Regions from separate parts of the Homo sapiens genome. Here region 2 is linked to region 1. The links are contacts of gene promoters, found by promoter capture Hi-C in blood cells and fetal thymus (Javierre and others, 2016). All regions are on one chromosome and are shown on one strand. Each heading gives the region's core, a stretch centred on a gene start or on the middle of the fragment in contact. The rest is flanking DNA. Distances are from core to core; before and after follow the strand shown.

Region 1 (3,835 bases), core at 655-3,154:
ATGCTACTGCATAATAAGGAGAGCTGGGCTAGTTGGAGGTGGGGTGGGGATCAGGGAAGGTTTCACAAAGGAAGTGATATTTAAGCTGAAATTTGAGGGGTAAATAACGCTTAGGCTGGGGTATTGGCCCAGCCTTCCGAGTGGAAGGAATAGCATGTACAAATGTCCTGAGGTAGGAAAAAACTTGGCTTGGAGGGTTAGGGAGGGGACCAGAATTCCAATAAAGTAGCCCTCCTTCTTCCTATCCCAATTTCTCTCTGCTGGCACTAGAAAAGTTTCTGAGTACCAGGCCCTTTGGGAAAGGGAGAGAGTTTTGGCAGCAGGTGACCACAGCAAAAATCTTTCTGATAAGTCCTTAGGTGGTTGAGTGGGAAAGCCCTGGGGTGGGGGGCTTGCTGTAGTTGGTAGAAGTGGCTGGACAGCAGCTAAGTGGGGTGGAGAAAATGGAGAAGAGGGTGAGCTTGGGAATTCTGGCTTTGCTTTTTTCTGGGAAAGGGTAGGAGCCTTGCACATATATGGATGATTCAAGCTAGAGGGTGAGATGAGGGAGAGCTCCTTGTCCAGCCACACACAGATCCAAGAGCATTGCCCCAGAGCCTAGAGCTCAGAACCCCTAATATTGTTCCACTCCAGTTCCCTTTGGGATCTTTATTATCCAAAAAGTATTTCTTGAGCACCTGCTGTGACCCCAGCCCTCTCCTGGATGCAGGGGTCAATCAGACCTGGTCCCTTTAAGGAGGGAGACCAGTTCGGATAGAAATAATTACTATATGGGATAATTTAGTGCTGAGCACTAAATCTGTAACATGGGGACAATAATAATAGAAGCTACACCAAAGTGTTGGTGCATGGATAAAGTGCTTATCACAGTGCCTGGAGCAAAGTAATGCTTGGTAGAATGTTCTGGAAAGGCTAGGCACCCCAAGAAGAAGGATGGCTCTAATCTGGAATGGTTAGGTCTTGGAAGGGGTGTGGCAAGGATGACTTAGCCAAGTGCCCCCCTTCTATCTGCTCGCACTGCAGCCAGAGTGCTCCTTAAGGTGGTCTTCAAGAGCCTGCCCACCACCTCATCGCCCCCTCACTTCCTGCCTTCTCCTCTTCCTGGCTTCCTTTCAGTCCCTCTGCTTCCTTTATCCGGAATCCTCTTCCCTTGTTACTTCCTTAAGTTAGTTCTTCCCCAAACTTCACACCTCACCTCAAGTGTCGTTTCCCCAGGGAAGCTGTCCTGACCCCTGGGTTTTGTAGACCCTGCCACTTTCTCAATTCGTACCTATATCTTAATGTCATTTTAGGGTTGCTCGCTCTCTCTCCTGCACTGGGCTGTAAGCCCCAGGAAGCAGAGGCTGCATCTGGTTTTGTGTACTAGAGGGTCCCCCCAAATACCCGGCTCTTCTATTAGGCACCCTCAGAATTTTTGTTGAGCGAATGAATGGGGTGCAAGAAAGGCACGGATAATATAGGTTATTTACGGAGCATGTAACTGTCCGCAGGGCACTGCTCTAAGCTCTTTGTTCGAATCATTTTATTCAATCTCCCCAACCACCCTCTGAGGGAGGTGGTACGATTTTCCTCATCTCACAGACAAAGAGAATGAAGCTGAGGGAGGTTAAGTGACTTACACAAGGTCACTCCGCCTGTTAGTGCAGGGGCGGGAGGCGGGATCCACACCCAGGTCCCTCTGACACCAAAGTGGCAAGGGGGTGGGAGGGGAGTCCAGGTTGGGACGGGGTCGCACTCGAGCCGGCGGAGCATCCCTAGGGAGGGGGCGGGAGGCCTCCCCTGCCCAGCTCCGAGCCGGTGGTGCAGCGTCCGCCCCCGGTCGCGGGCGCAGACTGGCGGCCGCCTCCGGGCCACGTGGTGCGCGCGGCGGGCGCGTCCGAGGAGCCTGCGGCTGCTCCTGGCTCACAGCGCTCCGGGCGAGGAGAGCGGGCGGACGCCGGGGGCTGGGCCGGTGCGGGCGGCGAGGCAGGCGGACGAGGCGCAGAGACAGCGGGGCGGCCGGGGCGCGGCAGCCGGCGGCGTCGGGGCCGCGGCCTCTGCCTTGCCGCTCCCCTCGCGTCGGATCCCCGCGCCCAGGGCGCACGGTGGAGAGGGACGCGGCGGAGCCGGCCGGCAGCCATGGAACCGGCCCCCTCCGCCGGCGCCGAGCTGCAGCCCCCGCTCTTCGCCAACGCCTCGGACGCCTACCCTAGCGCCTGCCCCAGCGCTGGCGCCAATGCGTCGGGGCCGCCAGGCGCGCGGAGCGCCTCGTCCCTCGCCCTGGCAATCGCCATCACCGCGCTCTACTCGGCCGTGTGCGCCGTGGGGCTGCTGGGCAACGTGCTTGTCATGTTCGGCATCGTCCGGTGAGTCCGCTGCGGGCCGGCGCCGCAGGGCTGGAGCCCGGGGTGAGGGTGGGGATCACGAACTTGAGACCCCAAGCCCGTTCCCTGGACTCCCCGCGCCTCCGCATTTCCTGCAGGGGCACCTGGGGCCCAGCGAGAGGCGAGGCCACTTACATCGAGGGGAACACAGGAATGTGTGTCATCGTGTGTATGTGTGTGTGTGGTGCGGGGGGGGGAGTGCGCCGCGGTTGACTAAATTACATTTGATCATCTGTTGGCATCCCCTTGCTTCTTTGTGGGACAGTTTGGCGTCAGTTTGTGTGTCTGTCACAGTTTGTGAGTGGATGGTTGTGACAGTACAACTGTATGTTTGGACGTCGGAAACATGCCCATGGGGTGGGCAGAGCTGCTCTGAGGTGCCGCGGGCCTTTGGGGAGACCGGTGTGAGGGCACCGTGCAGGCAGGGCGGACAGGAGGGTGCTGGGTGTCAGCACCTCGCCGTGGGGCCCTTACCAAGTCATATTTGGTGCTCATCTGTTGGTGTGAGCTTGTCCCTAACGGTCAGTTTGTGATTCTGTCTGAATGTAACAATGTGACTGTTGTTTCTTGTCAAGCTCTTGAAACCCCGAGGGCGGCAGAGCATCCGGAGTGGCCGTCGTCCCTGTGTTTGTGCAGCTGTGTGTGCCTTTGCCAGTGATTCCTGGATAACATGGGCGACAGCTGTGGGCCGCCAACCGGTTCTCTGTTCCCTTCGCCAGTGCCCATCTGGTCAGGAATTCTGAATAGGATTCAGAGAAGACTCACGCCCTCCTCACAAATGCCCTCTCCCATTTTCTCTTTGCCTCCTCTAACAGTCTTTTCTTCTGCCAGAGGCAGCAGAGGTTGGTCTGGGCGGGAGTGGATTTTGAGTTTTCATCCCAGGAAGTGAGGTGCTCTTCTTGGAGTTTATGGAGAGTGCTGGGACCTTCTCAGAGAGCCTAAGACGTCAGCTTGCCCCAGAAGTAGCCCTCCTGATACAGCCCCACAAGCTCAGACATGGCCAGTAAGGGTTGAGAGGAAAATTTCCATCTTTAAAACAACAAAGATGCCCTCGTATTTGCTGTTAGTTGAAAATGGGTCCTTCATGCTGGTGGACCAAGGACATGGCCCTAAACCTCTCTGGGCTGTGGGTGCCACCATGCAGGGCATAGGTCAGGTCGTGGACTCAGAGGTTAGAGAGATGAACTGTAGTCTCAGCCTAGTCATGGATGCCCAGGCATCATTCTTCCTGCCCTGCCTCCCATCCGCCTCAGTTTCCCTGTTCGAAGAATACAGACCTAATCTCCTCAATTGGAAAGTATGAATTCCAGGGTATGGGGTCTCTGCAGCGCAGAACGTGGTGTGTTGGAGCATGGGATGAGGTGTGTGGGTGTCAGTGGGCTTCGGCATTGATGATCTCTGGGAGATCTTTGCTCCTCCAGAAAGAGTGGCGGGTACAAGAATTTCCTGTGCTTTCCATGACTCATCACAAG
Region 2 (3,835 bases), core at 753-3,252, 400 kb before region 1:
GGGTTTTTTTGAGGTGGAGTCTTGCTCTGTCACCCAGGCTGGAGTACAATGGTGTGATCTCGGCTCACTGCAACCTCCGCCTCCTGGGTTCAAGCAATTCTCCTGCCTCAGCCTCCCAAGTAGCTGGGACTACAGGCACCTGCCACCACACCCAACTAATTTTTGTATTTTTAATAGAGACGGGATTTCGCCATATTGGCCAGGCTGGTCTTGAACTCCTGACCTCAGATGATCCACCTGCCTCGGCCTCCGAAAGTGTTTGGATTACAGGTGTGAGCCCGGCCTGAGATTATTTTTTTCTAAACACTTATTTAAATCTTGGAATTTGTAAATTAACATTCATTCAATCATAATATGGAGTTTATAGGAAAACAGAAATGACTCATATTTAACTACCATTCTCCTCTGTCTCCATTTTTCCTTCTAAATGTTATAATGATTTTTTTCTTAGTTGTTTACTATACATATACACACATATACATATGATAAGAATTTGGTGTACTCAGTGTCATTTGACAAAGAAAAGAATTGAGGATGTAAAATGAGTTTGTTTCTTTTGGTGGAGTGAGAATTTTGTTATAATCAAGTTAGCTAATAATTAAGTAGAAATATTGAAAAAGAGATAAAAGACTACACATTGGGTACAGTGTACACGGCTTGGATGATGGTTGCACCAGAATCTTAGAAATCACCACTAAAGAACGTATTCATGTAACCAAATACTACCCATTCCCCAAAACCTATTGAAGTAAAAAATGACATAAAAAAGGAAAAAAAGAAAACAGAAACCACCCAAAAGAAAGAAAGAAAGAACGAATGAACAAAAGAAAGAAAGAACGAATGAACAAAAGAAAGAAAGAAAGAGAAAGAAAGAAAGAATTATTTGTGGTATTCTGGAAATAAAAGTAGTGAGGGATTTTTACGAATAAAGTACCAGAAGGATAGACCTAAGGTCTCTAGGACCTTTTCTACCTGGACAGATGCTTACACATTTCATTATATAATATTTAAATATCATGTTCGTTAATATCACTATTGGTCTCGTTGAAAAAAATGTTAAATGTTGGGAAGCTGTCAAGCTCATTCTGGATGTAAATTTTCCAAAATAGGAATTTCACTTGAAAGCTTGAATTCTATCACTAGCAACAAATACTGTTAATTTTCTTTATTAGTGACAGGCTTACTTTTGAGAAAATGCCTGTCAGCTATCTAAGCTTGAATAACATAGCTTGTTGTTCAGTCTTTCAAGTAAAAATAGTATTCCATGAAGAAAACTGTCTAGTTCAGTTTGCAACTCAGTCACACAAATGCCTTTCCTGGAGATAACCATCATACTTAGTATACAAATGTGCTTTATACATATTTCTGTTTCATCATAAACAGTAATAAAAATATATGTACTAAAGGGTTGATATTTATTAAAACTAATATTTTTTATTGCTTTATCAAGGACATTCTTAAAGTTGAATTTATTTTTCACTGTAACTGTGTAGTTGTGAAGAATACAATGATTTCTGCTACAGTTTGGTGCTGTTGCCTTGATTTGTGTTAAGGTGCTAACAGTTTTGCTCACCATTGCTTTTGTACCATCAGTGCAAGTGTCAACACAGTGGAAAAGGCAAATAATTTTTTTGTATTCTTATGTATTTAGTTTTACCTCTTGGACTTCTGAAAGGATCTCAGGGATCCCCAGAGATCAGCAGATTATACTTGCTTCATTTTCCTGAGGTTCCTAGAGGCCCTTCTATGGAAGTCATGAGTAAAGTTAAGATTTAATCCTGGAGATTGTATTGGGCAGGGTTTCAGTGTGGACTAGGTCTTGGACATTTGACAGAAATATGGTCAGAGGGAGTGATTAGCTCTGTGGTTTCTCCTAAGCAGGAGTACCCTGCACCACTACCCCCGGGCCACAGGAGGTGAGCAGTGGGCCAGTGAGCATTACAGTCTGAGCTCCACCTCCTGTCAGATCAGTGATTAGGTGGAACAGTTTCATCCCAAACCACCCCAACACCCCCGTCTGTAGAAAAATTGTCTTCCATGAACCTGGTCCCTGGTGCCAAAAAGGTTGGGGACCGCTGGGTTAAAGAAACTTTTGTGGAGCGAAATGAGTCTGGAACTCATTAGGCAATCAAGTATGTTCAAAGAAGAAATCCATAAGCATTTAGTCAAGACAGGCTGAGGGCCAGGCTCACCTGGGTACTGTGTTCTTAGCTTTAAAAAGGATAAATAGCAGCAGAGATATTGGTGATGACAGCTTTCAATATATCTCTTGAGTCACATTGCTCCAGTCTGTGTACAGGTGGCCTTGCAGTCTGTAGAGGTGGTACGCAACTGTCATCCTGGGTTATCCAGTCTCCATTTTCCTGACAGCTTTGCTTCTTTCCTGTGTTAGCTCCTTTGTTTCCTAAACCCTCATGTCTTCCTCTGTCTTGGTTGCCAGTAGCTTTTTGATGTTGAACCTCCTGGAATAATTATCTAATTCATTTCTTTTTCCTTTAGATATGTTTCCTGCAAGATTTATTCAACTTTATCTTCTACTTTTATTAAATTTTTCTTTTCTACTATTAGAGTTTAATCTCCAGGAGGTCTTTTTGAAGTCTCTGCATGTTTCTTTTTATACTATCCTTTCATTCTTTCAACAGATTTTCCTTGCCCTGCATAGTCTCTTTTTTTCCTAACATTGTTTTTAAATATTGATTTGGTTTCTTTTATGTTAGAGTTTTTCTCTGATGTCTAGTAATAATTAACTGTCTGCTGATGGTTAAAAGTGAGGGACTAAATAGCCAGTTAGAAGCTTTAAATGTATAGGCAGGTTGCCTTTGGGTGAGCTTCTTGGCCTTATTGTTGATGAACATTCTCATATCAGTATCAGGGTCTAAGGGGCACAGTCTTCCCACTGTGTTTGGATGGTAAGGGGTGAAGAAAACTGACTGAAGAGACTGCTGCATTCAGCATTAATTATGCATATTTTCACTTAATTCTCTTCCATTTTTAATTTTACTTGTATTTGTATTTTATTTTACTTTATTTTTATCTTTTGAGATGGAGTCTTGCTCTGTCACCCAGGCTAGAGTGCAGTGGCGCCATCTCAGCTTACTGCAACCTCTGCCTCCTGGGTTCAAATGATTCTCCTGGCCTCAGCCTCCCGAGTAACTGGGATTACAAGCACCCATCACTGCCTGGCTAATTTTTGTAGTTTTAGGGTTTCACCATGTTGGCTAGGCTGGTCTCGAACTCCTGACCTCAGGTGATCCGCCTGCCTCGGCCTACCAAAGTGCTGAGATTACAGGCATGAGCCTCTGCAGCTGGCCTTATTTTCTTTTTCATTTTATTTTTTTATTTTTATTTTTTGGGGTCAGTCTTCCTCTGTCTCAAAAAAAAAAAAAAAAAAAAAAGCACCGCAGCCTCGACCTCCTGAGCTCAAACAATTCTCCCACCTCTGCCTCCCAAGTAGCTGGGACTATAGGCACATACCACCATGCCTGACTAATTTTTTTACTTTTTGTAAAGATGCAGTCTCCCTATGTTGCCCAGGCTGGTCTTGAACTCCTGGGCTCAAGTGATTCTCCCACCTCGGCCTCCCCAAAAGTTGAGATTACAGGCATGAGCCATTGCACCCAACCCCTTCCATTTTTTGTACCATATCCCTACCATCAGTTGCCTTTTGCGACCCCTTTCCAGAGACCATTTGCTTTACACTTTCTTGGAAAACAGATTCCAAAATTCCGCCAGAGTTAGTGTAGGACAGACATTGAAGATCATGGAGTAGGGAAAGTGATAGAGGAATCAAACAGCTTTTACCTTGCTTCTCCTGATTTTAGGTCACCTCCCTTTC

The links. Contacts are between HindIII fragments. The CHiCAGO score rates a contact against its expected background, and 5 or more counts as called.
Region 2: a fragment that was not itself captured here is called in contact with the fragment with the promoter of OPRD1 in region 1 in 6 of 17 cell types (activated CD4 T cells, naive CD4 T cells, naive CD8 T cells and 3 more); the score reaches 7.2 in activated CD4 T cells.

The regions. Positions count from the first base shown.
Region 1 is chr1:28,810,266-28,814,100 of GRCh38, forward strand. It overlaps OPRD1 (opioid receptor delta 1), which reads left to right and starts at 1,905. Exons shown (of 3, transcript NM_000911.4): 1 at 1,905-2,345. The coding sequence starts at 2,119. The HindIII fragment of the contact is 20,164 bases long and covers 1-3,835 here.
Region 2 is chr1:28,411,055-28,414,889 of GRCh38, forward strand. The region is part of intron 2 of PHACTR4 (phosphatase and actin regulator 4); the gene reads left to right. Among named protein-coding and RNA genes, the nearest start is that of PHACTR4, 43 kb to the left of the region's middle. The HindIII fragment of the contact is 1,580 bases long and covers 1,213-2,792 here.